Linked DNA regions of Homo sapiens: all the other regions are linked to region 2. Evidence: promoter capture Hi-C in 16 types of primary human blood cells and fetal thymus (Javierre and others, 2016). All regions are on one chromosome and are shown on one strand. The core of a region is centred on a gene start or on the middle of the fragment in contact, and the rest is flanking DNA. Distances in the headings are between cores, read along the strand shown. Region 1 holds the start of CDK7 (cyclin dependent kinase 7). Region 2 overlaps TRAPPC13 (trafficking protein particle complex subunit 13). Region 3 holds the start of KIF2A (kinesin family member 2A). Region 4 holds the start of TAF9 (TATA-box binding protein associated factor 9). Region 5 holds the start of CCNB1 (cyclin B1). Region 6 holds the start of CENPH (centromere protein H).

Region 1 (2,700 bases), core at 165-2,664, 3.6 Mb after region 2:
AGATTGAGACCAGCCTGGCCAACAAGGTGAAACCCCGTCTCTACTAAAAATACAAAAATTAGCTGGGTGTGGTGGAGCAGGCCAGTAATCCCAGCTAATCGGGAAGCTGAGGCAGGAGAATCGCTTGAACCCAGGAGGCAGAGGTTGCAGTGAGCTCAGATCGGGCCAGCGTACTCCAGCCTGAGCAACAGAGTGAGACTGTCTCAAAAACAAACAAACAAACAAAGGCAGGGGGAGGGGGGCACATTTCCATGTTGACAGCTGCTCTGGCTCAGAAACTTTTAATTATCCACTAGTAGAGCCATCTGGATTACTGCAATAGTTCTCTAATAGGCCTTCTTTCTTTTTCTTGTCCCTCAAAATCTATAATATAGTCTCCCAACAGCAAGAGTGAACCTTTTAAAAGTGAGTCAGGTCATATCACTTGTCTGCTCCAATCCCTCCAGTGGGTTTTCAGTGATGACTTTCTTGTACCACCCTATTTAAAACCTCCATCCCTGCCCCTGCCCTGATTTGTTATCCTTTATCTGCTTTATTATCTCTATAGCACTTATCACCTATGTATCATAACACATATTTGACTTGTTTTTTTATCTCCTCCCATTGGAAGGCAGGGATCTTTGCTCCCTGCTATCTCAGATTCTACAATGGTGCTTGGCACATAGATAACACTCAATATCAGCATCCTAAGAGAGAGAAAAATGAAAAAGGAAAAGCACTCAATATGTTTTTGAATAAATGAATTAGTGTGTTTGTTATGACAATTTATGATAATCAAGGGGTTGGGTACTCATTACTGCTAAGTTAATTGAGCACTGTCTCAATTAATTGAGTTAATGTCTAAGCTTTCTGCATGTTTCATTTAATACCCACAATCTCCTGTGATGTAGTTCATTATTTTTTCCATTTTACCGAGTAGAAAACTGAGGACTAGAAGCTGATTCCCACAGCACGTTTCAGTTGAGTTGGATTTTGTTTTCCTGGGCCTGCTTCTTCATAAAGGGACTGGACTAAGAATACTCTTGACCAGCCCGTAAGAACTTGGCACTCGTCTCAGTAATCTGAGATAGCAGGGTTTGGCGTCCATAGCAACCACGGCGACAGGACGCGCTCGAGCAAGAACCAAAAAGCGAGAACAGGTACAAGGCCAAACTTTCTACATTCACAGACACCTACCAAACCCCGAACATGGAACACCAAATTAGAACGCTGACCAGTTCCTGGTAATGTAGAAAACACCCAAGTTAAAACGGCAACAGAGTGACACAGCAGCCATTGAAGATGCCCCACTTCAGGCACCGACAGGCGTCACGTGACGGGTGGGGAACGCCAACCGCCTGGGCCTAGCGCAGCTTCCTCCGCCCACCACGGAAGTGAGGCGGGGATACTAAAGCGACGGAGCCCGGTGGACGGAAGTGGGTGTTGGAGGCTTTAAGGTAGCTTTAAATTCGTGTTGTCCTGGGAGCTCGCCCTTTTCGGCTGGAGTCGGGCTTTACGGCGCCGGATGGCTCTGGACGTGAAGTCTCGGGCAAAGCGTTATGAGAAGCTGGACTTCCTTGGGGAGGGACAGGTGAGGCTCTCTGGAAGGACGGGGAGGGCCCCAAGCGGACAGCCCCGCGCCGCCTCCACCTTTGCGGGTTTTCCCGTGGAGGCCAGAGGTCTGGCTTGGCTGCTCGTTCTCGTTGGGGGAAACCGTCCAGACGCACTTGCTGCCCATTCTTTACATCCTGGGGGTGAATCCCTGAGGGGCCTCTCCTTGCTGAAGAGTAGCCTGGAGCTGGACGGAGACTGACCCGCCACGTTTCCAGCCGCCGCGAGTCTGCTCAGGAACTCTGGGCTCTTTGCTTCGCGAAATGTAAAAATGCAAAAAGGCAAACACAAAAACTCCCATAAACTTATGTTATTTCTATTTTTCTTTCTAGTTTGCCACCGTTTACAAGGCCAGAGATAAGAACACCAACCAAATTGTCGCCATTAAGAAAGTGAGTTACCTTTTTATGTTGTTTTTAAGTCTCCTTGAAGATGTCTGTATTATTAATTGACTGATAGCCATTTTATTAGTCTTGACCATACTCTGATAATGAGTTACTCATGTCATTTTCAGAGACAAAATAATTAATTAGTGCTTTGTGTTCCCAAACGGAACTCTAGGGTTGAACCCGTTTTAATTTCTATTGAAATGAAGAAGAAGCTGTATGTTATTTTTACTGCATAAATTCATATGTTGTGGGCAAGTACTGCCCATCTTTTCGGTCCTCAGAACTATTGGATACCATGATCTTTCTAGGTCACTGTTTATACCTCACCTGCATCCACTCAGTGTGTCGTATCTGTATTTTCTGTGTACGGATTTACCATGAAAGACTTTCACTAGCATGAACAACATTGATGTGAGGTCTAAAATGAGTTCAGTAGCTTCTTATATTCATTCAAAAGACCTGGGTCGGATTCAGTAGCTTCTTATATTCATTCAAAAGACTTGGGTCGGGCCAGCCGCGGTGGCTCACGCCTGTAATCCCAGCACTTTGGGAGGCCGAGGTGGGCGGATCACTTGGGGTCAAGAGATCCAGACCATCCTGGCCAACATGGTGAAACCCTGTCTCTACTAAAAATACAAATATTAGCTGGGTGTGGTGGCACCTGTCTGTAATCCCAGCTACTCGGGAGGCTGAGGCAGGAGAATCACTTGAACCTGGGAGG
Region 2 (2,700 bases), core at 36-2,535:
AGTTACTCAGGAGGCTGAGGCAGGAGAATGGCGTGAACCCGGGAGGCGGAGCTTGCAGTGATCCGAGATCACGCCACTGCACGCCATCCTAGGCAACAGAGCGAGACTCCATCTCAAAAAACAAACAAACAAAAAGTTAAATTCCAGTGATACAGAGACTGCCACTGGGAATTTTTAGTTTTCTGTTATTCTTTTTTTTCCAAAACCAAGGATACCTAAGAAAGAATATTTAAGCAGCCTAAGCCAGGCGTGGTGGCTCACGCCTGTAATAGCACTTTGGGAGGCCGAGGCTGGCAGATCACTTGAGATCAGGAGTTGACACCAGCCTGGCCAACATGGCGAAAACCCGTCTATACCAAAAATACAAAAATTAGCCAGGTGTGGTGGTGTAATCCCAGCTACTCGGGAGACTGAGGCAGGAGAACCGCTTGAACCTGGGAGGCAGAGGCTGCAGTGAGCTGAGATTGCGCCACTGCACTCCAGCCTGGGTGACAGAGTGAGACCCTGTCTCAAAAAAAAAAAAAAAAAAAAAAAAAAGAACAATAAGCAGCCTAAACGGACAAGTGCTTCAAAATTGACTGATAGTTTCAACTTTATTAAACCTCTTTAGTACCATCTTATAGTTAACCCATTGTTCTAGTTAATCAACAATTTTCACACATTTCAATGTGCTGATGCTGAATGCCAAATGTATTAATTTAAGTGGTCATTTAAGTTCACTTTATCTTTTAATATGTAAAATGTTAAAGATAATATCTTGTTATTCTTGGTTGGGTGAGGTGGCTGATCACTTGAGATCAGGAGTTCGAGACCAGCCTAGCCAACATTATGAAACCCCGTCTCTACTGAAAATACAAAAATTAGCCAGGCGTGATGGTGTGCACCAGTGGTCCCAGCTACTCAGGAGGCTGAGGCACAAGAATCACTTGACCCTGGGAGGCGAAGGTTGCTGTAAGCCGAGATTGTGCCACTGCACTCTAACCTGGGCAACAAAGACTCTGTCTCAAAAAAAAAAAAAAAGTCATCCCTTGAGTATAACACTGATTGACTTTAGACAACAAGAGAATTTCTCAGTGCCATATTTTACAATGTGAAAGTATAAGGAACAGGGAAGAAAAACATTAGTGCATCATTAGTTCTTGAAAGTATATATGATAACATTTAGATCCATATTTAAAATATGGATGTTAAAGATCACAATTATTTATGAATTTGAGAGTTGTCAGATCTGTTAGTGGGCAGTATCAGTAGGTAAAAATAATGAAATTATTTCTTCTAACTCTTCAGAATCAGACAGTGATTCTATTGTGAAATGATGACAAGAATCCATACTCATGGTTATCCTAGCAGTGGGAGAACCCTCATCAAGTAATTCTCTAATGATTTTTGGGGAGAAGGGATTCAACTTATTTTTTTCTGCTGTTGTTAGGATGTGAAAAAGTCTGTTTTATGGCTCTTACAGCTTTGGGCCTGATTAGCAAGCCTAACTTGCAGATATTGGAAGGCTCCATTCTTGAGCCTATGCACCATATGCTGGAATTTATTATCAGTGACTTAATTTGGGGCAACTTGAGGACTTCTGTGCTCTAAGAGAAAAAAATAGGAGTCTAGACTTCTTGTTCTCTTCCAAACTGGAATTCAAAAGCCATGGTATTGGGGTCTCCATACTGTTTAATTGCCTGGATTATGAGGAGAAGACAGTGTCACAAAACTGGTTCTTAGCCTGGTTAAACCATATTAGCAAAGTTAAACCATATTAATGGTTTTAGTTTTTACTACAGAGAATGACGTGAAATCATCAAATATTCTATCTATATATTTGTTTGGTGGAATCCATATAATTTTTTTTTTTTTTTTGAGACGGAGTCTTGCCCTGTCACCCAGGCTGGAGTGCAATGGGAGTACGATGGCGCGATCTCAGTTCACTGCAAACCTCAACCTCCCGGGTTCAAGCGATTCTCCTCCCTCAGCCTCCTGAGTAGCTGGGATTACAGGCACACGCCACCACAGCCGGCTATTTTTTGTATCTTTAGTAGAGCCGGAGTTTCACCATGTTGGCCAGGCTGGTCTCAAGCTCCTGACCTCGTGATCTGCCCGCCTTGGCCCCCATAAAGTTCTGGGATTACAGGCATGAGCCACCGCACCTGGCAAATCTACATAATTTTAAGTATAAAATGATTAATTTTCTTCCAGACAGATTAGAATTTTTTTTTTTTTTAATGAGATGAAGTCTTGCTCTATCGCCCAGGCTGAGTGGCATGATCTTGGCTCACTGCAACCTCTGGCTCCCAGGTTCAAGCTATTCTCCTGCCTCAGCTTCCCTAGTAGCTGGGACTACAGGCATGCGCCACCACACCCAGCTAATTTTTTTTTGTATTTTGAGTAGAGATGGGTTTTCACCATGTTGGATTAGAATTTACAGTGATTTCATTGTCCTCAATTTAGTTGCCTCAAATTTTTAAATATTACATTTTTTGTTAATTCATATGAAAACAATATTTTAAGAATCATTCATTTACTCTTTGTTTCTGCTAAAGTTTTAAGACTATTATTACTTAATATATTAATATCGATACTTCCAAGTCCTTTATATCTATTGAGTTAAACATGTTGACTACTAGCGTTTTTAGGCAGGAAGTGATTTTATAGGGCATCTAGTTCAGATCCCTTATTTTGGTAAGAGAAAGAATTTTCAGGTTT
Region 3 (2,700 bases), core at 8-2,507, 3.3 Mb before region 2:
GTGGTGGAGGCGGGTGGATTACCTGAGGTCAGGAGTTTGAGACCAGCCTGGCCAACATGGTGAAACCCCGTCTCTACTAAAAATACAAAAATTAGCCAGGCGTGGTGGCGCGGGCCTGTAATCCCACCTACTCGGAAGGCTGAGGCGTGAGAATCGCTTGAACACAGGAGGCAGAGATTGCAGTGAGCGGAGATCGCGCCACTGCACTCCAGCCTGAGCGACAGAGCAAGACTCCCCCTCAAAAACAAACAAAACAAAACAACAACAACAAAAAACAATGACTAGGGAAAGTAGGCCATGAAAAGTGTTGTTTCCAACCTATCAATTGCCAGTACTACAAGCAGGAGTTAGACGTTTGGAGGTTTTCACACGGTGCTATAAATACAGTTTCCAGGGCCCCGGTACACGTGGCCTTCCTGCTCTGCCAGGATGGAGAGTCTTGCTTTCCACATTGCTGATGTGGTCAGACTAATTAAATTATTGCAAAAAGACACATTCCCTAGTCAACCTTATGTGTCTGCCTTCTTCCCTTGAGTCACAGTTGTTGGCTTTACAGGCCAAGGCAAGTAAGTCTTGAACCCTCAGCAGAAACAGGGCACCAGCATCGGATGCCTCATAACCTGAACAGTTAAGGACGCCCCACCACAGAGCTTCTTTCTGAGTGTGATAAACTATAAGGCAAGACTGTAAAGGGGTGGATCTTCATTTCGATTTAGGGTAGGTGACACCTCAAGGGTGTTTCTTCCCTTCCAGCGTAACTGGATGGGAAACCTACACCAAGTGTGCTTGGGAGGGCTGCTTGGGTCAGCTACCTGTAAGTGGAAATAGGGGGTGCCACCTTCCGATGAAAACCCGGATCCCGTACTGTCAACGGAGGGCCCTTGAATTCACATCCCTCAGCCCGCTAGAAAGCCCCTGAAACCACGTGGCCTTTAACCCATTCCGGCAACAGCGCCAATTCCCGGAAGCGAGAGGGCAAGAAAGCTCGGCGCGACGCTTCCCGCGTCTTCTAGGCCGCGCGCTGAAATCAAACGCGACGCCGGCTAGCTGTGGGCCGGGCCGAGCGCTCAACGCTCCAGCGGCTGGGTAAGCCGCGGCCGCCGCCCACCCCGCTGCAGAGCTGGGCGGGGCCGCCTGGAGGCAGCGGGGAGAGGCCAGCCGAAAAGGAAGAAGAGACGCCGGAGGCGCGCTCTGCGCAGGCGCGCGGCGCCCCGCCTCCCCAGCGTCGGCTCCCCGGCGGGCGGTGCGGGCCCTCCCACTCTACCCCGCGCCGTCTCACGGCCCCGGCCCTAGCTTCACCCCGACTACCCGGCGTGCGCGTCCTCCTGCCGGCCTGCAGGCCCGGGGCCTCCGCCTGCTTCCCCACAGCTGCTCCTTGCGGCCCCGCTTGCGTTCACGCTGTCGCCCGGGCCGGCGCGGCCGCGGGCAACCGCTCCCCCTCCCACACCTACCCCGCCCCCTCCCCGCCTTTTCCGCCCTCCGGTCCCCCTCCCTCGGCCCGCTGCTGCTGCTCCAGATGAGGTGATGGCAACGGCCAACTTCGGCAAGATCCAGATCGGGATTTACGTGGAGATCAAGCGCAGCGATGGTGAGCCGCGCTGCCAGCCCCGCTGGCCCGCTCGGCCCCGTGTTCGGGTGTGCACGGAGGGGACGCGGGCGCCGGCCGCCTCATTGATTGCTTCGCCGGGCTGTGGGGGTGGGAAGGCGGCGGCCGCGGCGCTTTTGTGTGTGGCGTGTGTGCCAGTGAGGCCGGCTTGGGGTCCGCCCGGGCGCTGCTGCAGTTCTCCGGATCGGGCCGCGGGGGAGGGAAGCCGGGTGGGGAAAGGGCCCGGGTGTCGAGGGTCGCGTCTCCGGGGGTCTCTGGGCGAGGGCCGCTCGCTCCTCCTCCCGCAATCTCCAGCCCCCCCCCGGGGACACCAGCCCGGGAGGGAGCGGGCTTCGTTAGGGATGACCCTGCCTCGCGCTTCCCCTTGGTCTTTGCATTTTACCGGCTTGGCCTCTGACGGGGATGGGGATGGGGGTGGGGGAGCGGGAAGACCAGCGATTTCACATTTAGAGAACCGACTGCTGGTCGGAGGCCGAGATGGGGGGAAAGAGCCAGTTCCGTCGCCTTAAACTGCCGTCTGGTTGTCAGGCCTCCCCGGTTTCGTCGTCGACCATGCTGCTTTCTTTTTTGCCACTTCTTGGGAGAAAAATGTGGAGAATATCGCGCTGAGCCATGAATAAGGGTGGGGGAGCAATGGGAAGAAATATTCGATGGGCTTCTCCAAGGTGATGAGACTGTAAAGGGAATGATAGGGGATGGGCAGAGTCAATGCGAGGCACTGCTGAGAGAGTGGGGGTGGGCGACCGGATGTTGATATTTTCACACCCTCGGGAGAGGTAACTGAGAAAAGTGTAAGGCGAGGTGAAGACACATGCTTCATTTTTTTTTTTAAGAGCCTTAGGCTTATGTATCTTTCTCTAGGTTTCTCTTGGGGAAAATGGTTTATGACACTAGCTTGGGGTGTGGAGTGAGATACGCCAGCCAGACTGGAAATAATTCATATTGTAAAGGAATAAATGCACGGAGGGAGATAAGTAAAATTATTTTCTTTCGGTACCAATATTGAAAGAACGAGAGATGTGTGATAATCTCGAGTTGAGCAGTGTTCCTGACTCCATCTCTCATACCGATTCCTTTTTTTTTTTTTTTGAGAC
Region 4 (2,700 bases), core at 201-2,700, 3.7 Mb after region 2:
ACTGACCCCTTGCGCCCTTCCCTAGAGATAACCACTGTAAACCAGTTTCCTTTCCCAAAGAAACCCTATTTATGTTTGCATGTAAATGTACATATATGTACATACTCTTTGTTATATAAATACAACACATATTCCCTTTTACATAAATGACAATACTATATACATTGTTCTTTACCTTCCCCTTCTGATACCTATTAAAATTACATTTCAAGATCATCAAATTCATAATTTTCAGCTATTCAGATTTAACATCCCTGAAATTAAACTTAAGCATAAAGATAACAGGGATAATCCAGTTCCCATACCCAGGAGAATAACGGTCACCTCAAGTCCACTATAATACACCAAGTCTGAACCCTGGACTCAACATGTTTTCAATAAAATGTTCACTTTAAAGTTTTGACAATGACTTAATAACCAGGGCACTATGTTTGATCCATGCAAAAAGATGTAAAATCTTCCGCTTAAGGAATCTAAAATTCTAAACGTTATTTGTGGGGTGGTTAATCTGCACCTCTCAGAAACAGACATGTCTTGTGCGCTGCCAACAATTTTACCTTTGGGTGAATGATGTAACTTTACTGTTCCCACAAAGAGTCTTAATTTTTCTGTACCTTGCAATAAAATCTACATGCATTAGATTTTTCCACGAATGGCCTACAATTTGATAAACACTTTCAGGACTAAACGGCTAGCAAAAATATTCGTTAAAGTCGTTATGCAGCATTTTAATTCCCTTCACTGATAACATGCACCCTGAGTATGGCTTCAAAGACCCACTCCTACGCGAGAAACGACCCGAAATGCTCTATATGCCTTCCTTTTAAGGGGCGGGGGGATCCTTTGATGTAACTCAACAAAAGCATACAGCAATTTCGTCACGTCACAAACATCTGAACTCGTTTACCGAAATCTAATCTGAGGCGTTTATCAGAAGCAAAGAAAAAATAAAATACGGCCCACGGAGGCCTAAGGAGTGAGGCATCCACCATTAATGACTCTACCGGGAAGCAGATATGGCCTTACGTTATTTCGCTAAAAATCCCAAGGCCAACCCTGCCAAAGAATCAACAACCCATTTTACAAACGAAATACCAGATTCAGAAAGACTAAGCAGGTTGCCAAGCTGGAGAGCTGGATCTGCCGACCTCTCTCCACCCCCCCCCGCCCCCCCCCGGAGCCTCAGGCCAACGGAATTAACGTTCCGCGTCCCCTCCCTCGCCTCCCGCAACGCCCGCGAGGGTCGGCTCCCGGGGCGCTGACAACCGCCTCGTGGCCCTCGGCCGGCCTCTGAAGAGGGCAGTGAGGGGCCCCCACCTGGGCGCCCGATGCCCAGAGCACTCTGCGCCCCCAGCCTGCCCCAGCCCAGTCCCTCCCGGCCGCGCGCCCTGACCGGTGAGCAGGATGTTCGGAAGCAACATGGTCCCCGCCGCGACGGCTTCGGGCGCCTCGCTCACGTGCCCTTTGCTCTACAGGGAGGAGCCGGAAGGGGCGGGCGGCAGCAAAAGCCCACGGCCCCAAAGGCCCCGAAGCCCACCGCGGCGCCCCTAGCCTGCCCCGGCGGCCCAGCCGCGGCCCACTGGTTACCTGGCTTTCGATGACACATTTCCGTCGCAAAGTTGGAGGGTGGGCATAACTCGGGTCGGTACTTCGGGTCAGGCAGTGCGCTGGATGCCTAAGTCACACACTCCTTCGGTGGTCCCCGCCCTTCGCTTGCGCCGACCAGTCTGGAAGGTCCCCGGGAGGCCGTACCTCCGAGAGGCTCGGCGTTGAGCCCGGGTAGGGCCAGGTGGCTGCCCTTTCACCTAGGGTAGTCCCTGGTCGCCTCCGCTCTTCGCCTAAAAGGGGATGCAGCTCCGGGAAAGTAAGGCCGCCGCGGTTGCGGCTATATTATGTATATGTCTTAGAGACGTGAGTCTATCTCTGCCTTCAAGCTTTCCTGGGCTCTCGTCGCTCCTCCTCCCGACCCGCCCATCCCATCTGGGGATGAGAAGATTGAGGGTGCAGAGCCCTGTCCTGCAGCGGGGATTTGCGAGCTCAACCCGGCACCCCACTGATTACAGGATTACGTTGGACGAATATTTGAGCTTAGTATTCCCTGTTCACTGTGTGGGGTGGTGGTGGGTCGGCTAGGAATAGTCTTGAAGGTCTACCTCTGACATCTCATTTCAGTAACCTCGCATCTTCAGGGACAGTTATCTGCTTTTTAAAGGAGGTAATTGTCAATCTTGTTTTCAAGAGTGAATAGAGACCTGACCGTGACAACAGTCTGCACCTTTTTTTGTTTGTTTGTTTGTTTTTGTTTTGTTTTGAGACGGAGTCTCACTCTTGTCGCCCAGGCTGGAGTGCAACCTCCGCCTCCTGGGTTCAAGTGATTCTCCTGCCTTAGCCTCCAGAGTAGCTGGGATTACAGGCGCCCACCACCACGCCCGGCTAATTTTTGCATTTTTAATAGAGACGGGGTTTCACCATGTTTTGGCCAGGCTGGTCTCAAACTCCTGACCTCAGATGATCCGCCCGCCTCGTCCTCCCACGGTGCTGGGATTACAGGCATGAGCCACCGCGTCCGGCCCCTGGTCTGCATCTTTTATTTCGAGCTACAAACTATATTTACTCAAATAGGTGTTTTTTTTCCACCTGTATACCTTTTGAAACGTCACAGTCTCTAATCGTGAACGATTTGGGGCGGAGGGCTGAACA
Region 5 (2,700 bases), core at 10-2,509, 3.5 Mb after region 2:
ATGGATGTTGAACACAGAACTGAAGGATGAATGGGAGTTACCTGAATAGAACCCAGGGGCTTGAATGCAAGAAGAGGCGGGCATTCCAGGCAGAGGAGAGCAAGGGTAAGGGCCCCACGGGAGGCATTCGAGTAGGAGGGTGAACTATGATGACAGAAGACTCAATAACGATCCAAAGAAACCAAATGATTGGGCGCCTTCTTTCGGATCCGTGACTTCCAGCGCCAGGAGTCTCTATTGGCTCTTATACCGTTGCTCTATGGGATAGCAATGTTTTTGTCCTTCAGCCTCCCCTCCAATTGCTGAGCTGCTGGTGTGTTTTGAGGAGTAGAAGGCAAAAAGAACCCTCTTGTTTTTCTTTGGATCTAGAGAGAATCTGAGCAAATGACAAAGCAAATGGGGTAAAATGTCTTTTTGTTTAGTTTTTCCTGATTTTCCCATGAGAGGCAAATACATGTTAAGGATAGTTGAATCTGAGTAAAGGGCATAGAAATATTCCTTACAAGATTTTTGTTGGCAACTGGTCTAAGTATGAAATTATTTCCAAATAGAAAGCTAAAACAAACAAAACAATTGGCCTTGGGAAACTGGACAATCTTGAAGTAATCAAGTAATATTGTTAAGGGACAATCAGTGTTGTGAAAACAACACGGATACACCCCCTCCCTCCCCCTCAAAAAAAAAAACCCTAAATTCAGTTCCCCCGTTGCTAATGTGTGACCCTGGCAAAGTCATCTAAGTCGCTGAGCTTCAGTTCCTCCAACCCAGAGAGTTGTTGCAACGATCAAATGAAAGAATGTCTATTAAAGCCTTTCATGAACTATATTATTGCTGCTACCGTAGAAATGGAAAGTGTGCAACACTAGATCCAAAACTACTTTTGACACTTCTGAGACTGTGGCCGCGCCTCTGTCACCTTCCAAAGGCCACTAGGCCTTTCCTGAGCTGGCATTGGCAACGCACACTCTTGCCCGGCTAACCTTTCCAGGTGGGCGGCGCACTGGCTTCACTGCTCTCCAGGTGGCCGCTGCAGCTGCCCGAGAGCGCAGGCGCAGAGGCAGACCACGTGAGAGCCTGGCCAGGCCTTCCGGCCTAGCCTCACTGTGGCCCCGCCCCTCTCGAACGCCTTCGCGCGATCGCCCTGGAAACGCATTCTCTGCGACCGGCAGCCGCCAATGGGAAGGGAGTGAGTGCCACGAACAGGCCAATAAGGAGGGAGCAGTGCGGGGTTTAAATCTGAGGCTAGGCTGGCTCTTCTCGGCGTGCTGCGGCGGAACGGCTGTTGGTTTCTGCTGGGTGTAGGTCCTTGGCTGGTCGGGCCTCCGGTGTTCTGCTTCTCCCCGCTGAGCTGCTGCCTGGTGAAGAGGAAGCCATGGCGCTCCGAGTCACCAGGGTGAGCCGCTTCGGACTGCGAACTAACGCGGCCTTCTTAGCTGCTGCCTGCTCTCCCTGCCTCGCCTGCGGGAGCCTCCCGAGCGGGAGAGGGCCGCAGGAGCGATTTGGGGAGGAAGGTGGGAGGGGACTCACCAAGAGAGCGCCGAGGTGGGCCCAGGCCTGGTGAGAGAGTGTGGGGGACGATGGATGGAGGGAGGAAGGTGAGAAAGAGAACTGGACGGATATTGGATAAATGTTTTGGGGAGGTGGAGAGTCGACTGGGAACCTTTTGAAAAAGTGATAGAGGGTCCCTGAGTGGGCCCGCCAGCAACTCTGTAACCCCCTTCCCAGAGAGAAGGTGTCTGCAATTGGAGGCTTTTTCGGTTTCCTTTCAAATGTAAATTCTCGGTATTTTAGGGCTGGCCAGGACTAATCAGGGAATCCCTCAATTGGTAAATGTAGAGGTCGGCGGAAACTGACTTGTCACGGCCGCAGAGTAGACTCTGGGACCCATGTTTTCCCTCGGAACCCATTTTTAGTCGGCTTTCTTTCTGGGAACTTCTCCTTGTGCCCCACCTTAATTAACCCTTGACTTACTCGAGCCTTCGTGGATCAGCTCTTAAAGTGGTCTTGCTTCTTTCAGAACTCGAAAATTAATGCTGAAAATAAGGCGAAGATCAACATGGCAGGCGCAAAGCGCGTTCCTACGGCCCCTGCTGCAACCTCCAAGCCCGGACTGAGGCCAAGAACAGCTCTTGGGGACATTGGTAACAAAGTCAGTGAACAACTGCAGGCCAAAATGCCTATGAAGAAGGTAACTCTCTTCCTGACCTAACTTCTGTAAGAGCCCGCCTTCCAACTGTGGCCTTTGATGCAGAAACATTTCATTCTCTCTGTTTCATCTACAGGAAGCAAAACCTTCAGCTACTGGAAAAGTCATTGATAAAAAACTACCAAAACCTCTTGAAAAGGTACCTATGCTGGTGCCAGTGCCAGTGTCTGAGCCAGTGCCAGAGCCAGAACCTGAGCCAGAACCTGAGCCTGTTAAAGAAGAAAAACTTTCGCCTGAGCCTATTTTGGTAAACTTATTCTTACCATTGTAGAGTCTGTTGATTATTTCTTGTCCCTTATTTCACTGATACATGCAAGAGCATTCAAATGAATAGTAATATTAATACCATTTATTGAGTGCTTAGCATGAGGCAAGCTCTGCCTAACATTTTACATGCATTAACTCACATAATCTTTACACGTACTCTCTGAGGTATTGTCACCTCTACTATTTAAATCATGGCTTTAGAGAGGTTATGTCAGGGTCACACAGGT
Region 6 (2,700 bases), core at 94-2,593, 3.6 Mb after region 2:
ATTTTGTATTTTTAGTAGAGACGAGGTTTCTCCATGTTGGTCAGGCTGGTCTCCAACTCCTGACCTCGAGATCCTCCCCCCTCGGCTTCCCAAAGTGCTGGGATTATAGGTGTGAGCCACAGCGCCCGGCTTTTTTTTTTTTTTTTGAGACGGAGTTTCACTCTGTCACCCAGGCTGAAGTGCAGTGGCGCGATCTCAGCTCACTGCAACCTCCGCCCCCCCGGGTTCAAACGATTCTCCTGCCTCAGCCTCCTGAGTAGCTGGGATTACAGGCGCCCGCCACCACACGCAGCTAACTTTTGTATTTTTAGTAGAGACGGGGTTTCACCATGTTGGCCAGGCTGGTCTTGAATTCCTGACTTCAGGTGATCCACCCGCCTCAGCCCCCAAAGTGCTGGGAGTACAGGGGTGAGCCACCACGCCCAGCGAATTTAACTTTTGTCAGGAGCCGTATTACATTGACAATGGAGAGGAAGAAAACAGCACAGTATGATCAAGTTTAACTAGTGGGTAATTAGCTGTAAAAGAACTCTCGACTCTTGTTCAAAGAGGTTCAAGCTGCTGTGCTTGTGCGGCAAGGACAGTGTCCAAATGAAAAACTACAAATCAGTCATCTGTCCTTCATTTTCTCCATTCCCCCCACTCACTACACAGCTAAGAAAGCTCAAAGGTACCCTGCAGACACTCAAAACTTGAGGGCACGCAACTCTCAGTTACGAGTGGTGGCAATCATAATGACAGAATGAAGTACCAGTGCAAGAAACTGGAAGCGTGTGGATGTCTCCAGGCTGGAAGTCTGGGTTCGAAATGTCTGCAATGCCTCGCACTTGTGGCCCGTCCCTGATCTTCAGAAGCCACTGGTTTCTCCGCCAAACAAAGGGTATGCACCTCATGGGCTCAGGTCAAAAAAGTCTTCTAAACAACCCTCTAATGTTTATCTTTCACAGCCTGCCGGGCACACCCATCTTCAAAGGCAGAGGACGGAAAAGTGCCAAGATGGATGGACATATGGCTGTCGCCGCACTCCCGTGTCCAAGCGCCAAGGCCGAATGACCACTTAGGTCAGGAGATTTTTCCCCTCCAGGCTGCTGTTCCCGGGAGATGTCCCAACGTCTCTAGTCCAGCCCCTAACTCAGCACTCTACACATCCGACGCTTAACGAAAGCTATTCCAACTTTTTACCAGCCGTCTGCAGTTATTTTCACCAGTAGAGCCCGGATGAAAGAGGAGCCCGTAGTAACCACGGCAACCGAAAAACAAGGCGGAAAGGGTGGGGCCCTGGGCGGAAGGGGCGGGGCCCTCGGGCCTTTTCCCGGCGTCCATTTAGTGGCGGGAAAAGCGACCTTTTCTGAGCGCGTTTGCCTGTTGAGTGGTAGCCTTTCCCCTCAACCAGCAATGGAGGAGCAGCCCCAGATGCAAGACGCCGACGAGCCCGCGGACTCCGGAGGGGAAGGCCGGGCAGGCGGGCCACCGCAGGTCGCCGGCGCCCAGGCGGCGTGCAGCGAGGACCGCATGACCCTGCTCCTCAGGTTGTTCCCTTTGGCCTCCTCAGCCGGGGCCAAGTGGGCGTTGTGGCCCGGAACTCCGCCCTTGCTCAGAAGGGCTAGGGTTCGAATTCACGCTCGGTCACGTCAGGTCTCCGTGATTGCCTCATTCACTTAAACTGTTGAAGCTCTTTCTTCATCAGCGAAAAGGAGAGAAAAATGACCCCCTGGAGAGAGGTTACAAGGGTTAAATGAGATAGTCTAGGAAAGTGTTGAGCACAGTGCCCCGGGCCCTTAGAAGCTGTAATTTCTCCTCCTGTTTCCCCGCCCTCCCCCTACCTCTCTGGTTTACAGACAAATTGAATGCCAGAGCTAAACTGGAAGGAAGGTGCCCCTACCATTTCTTTTAGAACTACGACCCTTTGTAACCCAGAAGCTTTATATGTTATAAATTCTACTAAGCGGACGGTGTTTATACTTTTCCACTAAGCGGTTGCTGGGGAAGATTCGATGAGAAGGGACATTCGTCTTCTAAACTAGTGAGCAGGAGAAGGTCCTGGGCCAAATCTGCCTAACTGCCTATTTTTGTGTGACCACTCAAGCTAAGAATAGTTTTTATGTTTAAGTGTTGCAGGGAAAAGATCATAAAAATATTTCATAACACGTGAACTCTATTAGAAATTCAAGTTTCAGTTTCCATAAACAGTTTTATTGGAGTACAACTTTCCTGCCACAAGGGTGGAATTGAGTAGCTAAAACAGAGACCGTGTGACTCACAAACCCTAAAAAATTTACTATCAGGTCCTTTACAGAAAAAAATTTGCGGTCCTCTGTTCTATATCATAACAGAGGTAGTTTTAAAAAAATCATTATTGGCTGAGCGCGGTGGCTCACGCCTGTAATCCCAACACTTTGGGATGCCGAGGCAGACGGATCACCTTAAGTCAGGAGTTCAAGACCAGCCTGGCCAACCATGGCCAACATGGTGAAACCCCGTCTCTACTAAAAATACAAAAATTAGCTGGGCGTGGTGGCGGGCGCCTGTAATCCCAGCTACTCAGGAGGCTGAGGCAAGAGAATTGATTGAACCCGGGAGGCAGAGGTTGCAGTGAGCAGAAGATTGTGCCATTGCACTCCAGCCTGGGCAATAGAGCAAGACTCTTGACTCAAAAAAAAAAAATTAATTACCATTTTTTTCTTTCTTAAATGTTTTGAA

What was found. Contacts are between HindIII fragments. The CHiCAGO score rates a contact against its expected background, and 5 or more counts as called.
Region 1: a contact is called between the fragment with the promoter of CDK7 here and a fragment that was not itself captured in region 2, in 1 of 17 cell types (monocytes). The highest score is 5.0, in monocytes.
Region 3: a contact is called between the fragment with the promoter of KIF2A here and a fragment that was not itself captured in region 2, in 1 of 17 cell types (naive CD8 T cells). The highest score is 6.6, in naive CD8 T cells.
Region 4: the fragment with the promoter of TAF9 here is called in contact with a fragment that was not itself captured in region 2 in 4 of 17 cell types (non-activated CD4 T cells, total B cells, neutrophils and 1 more); the score reaches 10.7 in non-activated CD4 T cells.
Region 5: a contact is called between the fragment with the promoter of CCNB1 here and a fragment that was not itself captured in region 2, in 2 of 17 cell types (non-activated CD4 T cells and activated CD4 T cells). The highest score is 5.7, in non-activated CD4 T cells.
Region 6: a contact is called between the fragment with the promoter of CENPH here and a fragment that was not itself captured in region 2, in 5 of 17 cell types (total B cells, activated CD4 T cells, monocytes and 2 more). The highest score is 11.3, in total B cells.

Annotation. Positions count from the first base shown.
Region 1 is chr5:69,233,472-69,236,171 of GRCh38, forward strand. It overlaps CDK7 (cyclin dependent kinase 7), which reads left to right and starts at 1,415. Exons shown (of 12, transcript NM_001799.4): 1 at 1,415-1,570; 2 at 1,923-1,982. The coding sequence starts at 1,505. RefSeq lists an enhancer at 1,137-1,665. The HindIII fragment of the contact is 18,686 bases long and covers 844-2,700 here.
Region 2 is chr5:65,626,621-65,629,320 of GRCh38, forward strand. The region is part of intron 1 of TRAPPC13 (trafficking protein particle complex subunit 13); the gene reads left to right. The region is part of intron 1 of SHLD3 (shieldin complex subunit 3); the gene reads left to right. Among named protein-coding and RNA genes, the nearest start is that of TRAPPC13, 2.9 kb to the left of the region's middle. The HindIII fragment of the contact is 3,647 bases long and covers 1-2,700 here.
Region 3 is chr5:62,304,949-62,307,648 of GRCh38, forward strand. It overlaps KIF2A (kinesin family member 2A), which reads left to right and starts at 1,258. Exons shown (of 21, transcript NM_001098511.3): 1 at 1,258-1,588. The coding sequence starts at 1,525. RefSeq lists a silencer at 962-1,991. The HindIII fragment of the contact is 9,341 bases long and covers 1-2,700 here.
Region 4 is chr5:69,368,070-69,370,769 of GRCh38, forward strand. TAF9 (TATA-box binding protein associated factor 9) reads right to left here and starts at 1,451. Exons shown (of 3, transcript NM_003187.5): 1 at 1,394-1,451. It overlaps AK6 (adenylate kinase 6), which reads right to left and starts at 1,451. Exons shown (of 5, transcript NM_016283.5): 1 at 1,394-1,451. The coding sequence starts at 1,421. It overlaps RAD17 (RAD17 checkpoint clamp loader component), which reads left to right and starts at 1,749. Exons shown (of 19, transcript NM_133338.3): 1 at 1,749-1,864. RefSeq lists an enhancer at 2,003-2,552. The HindIII fragment of the contact is 4,867 bases long and covers 1-1,932 here.
Region 5 is chr5:69,165,891-69,168,590 of GRCh38, forward strand. CCNB1 (cyclin B1) reads left to right here and starts at 1,260. Exons shown (of 9, transcript NM_031966.4): 1 at 1,260-1,393; 2 at 2,018-2,188; 3 at 2,283-2,453. The coding sequence starts at 1,373. RefSeq lists enhancers at 940-1,905, 1,286-1,515. The HindIII fragment of the contact is 10,262 bases long and covers 1-2,700 here.
Region 6 is chr5:69,188,240-69,190,939 of GRCh38, forward strand. It overlaps CENPH (centromere protein H), which reads left to right and starts at 1,344. Exons shown (of 9, transcript NM_022909.4): 1 at 1,344-1,529. The coding sequence starts at 1,396. LOC112267932 (a long non-coding RNA gene) reads right to left here and starts at 1,238. Exons shown (of 2, transcript XR_002956215.2): 1 at 752-1,238. RefSeq lists enhancers at 956-1,195, 1,123-1,417 and a silencer at 1,276-1,395. The HindIII fragment of the contact is 12,435 bases long and covers 1-1,918 here.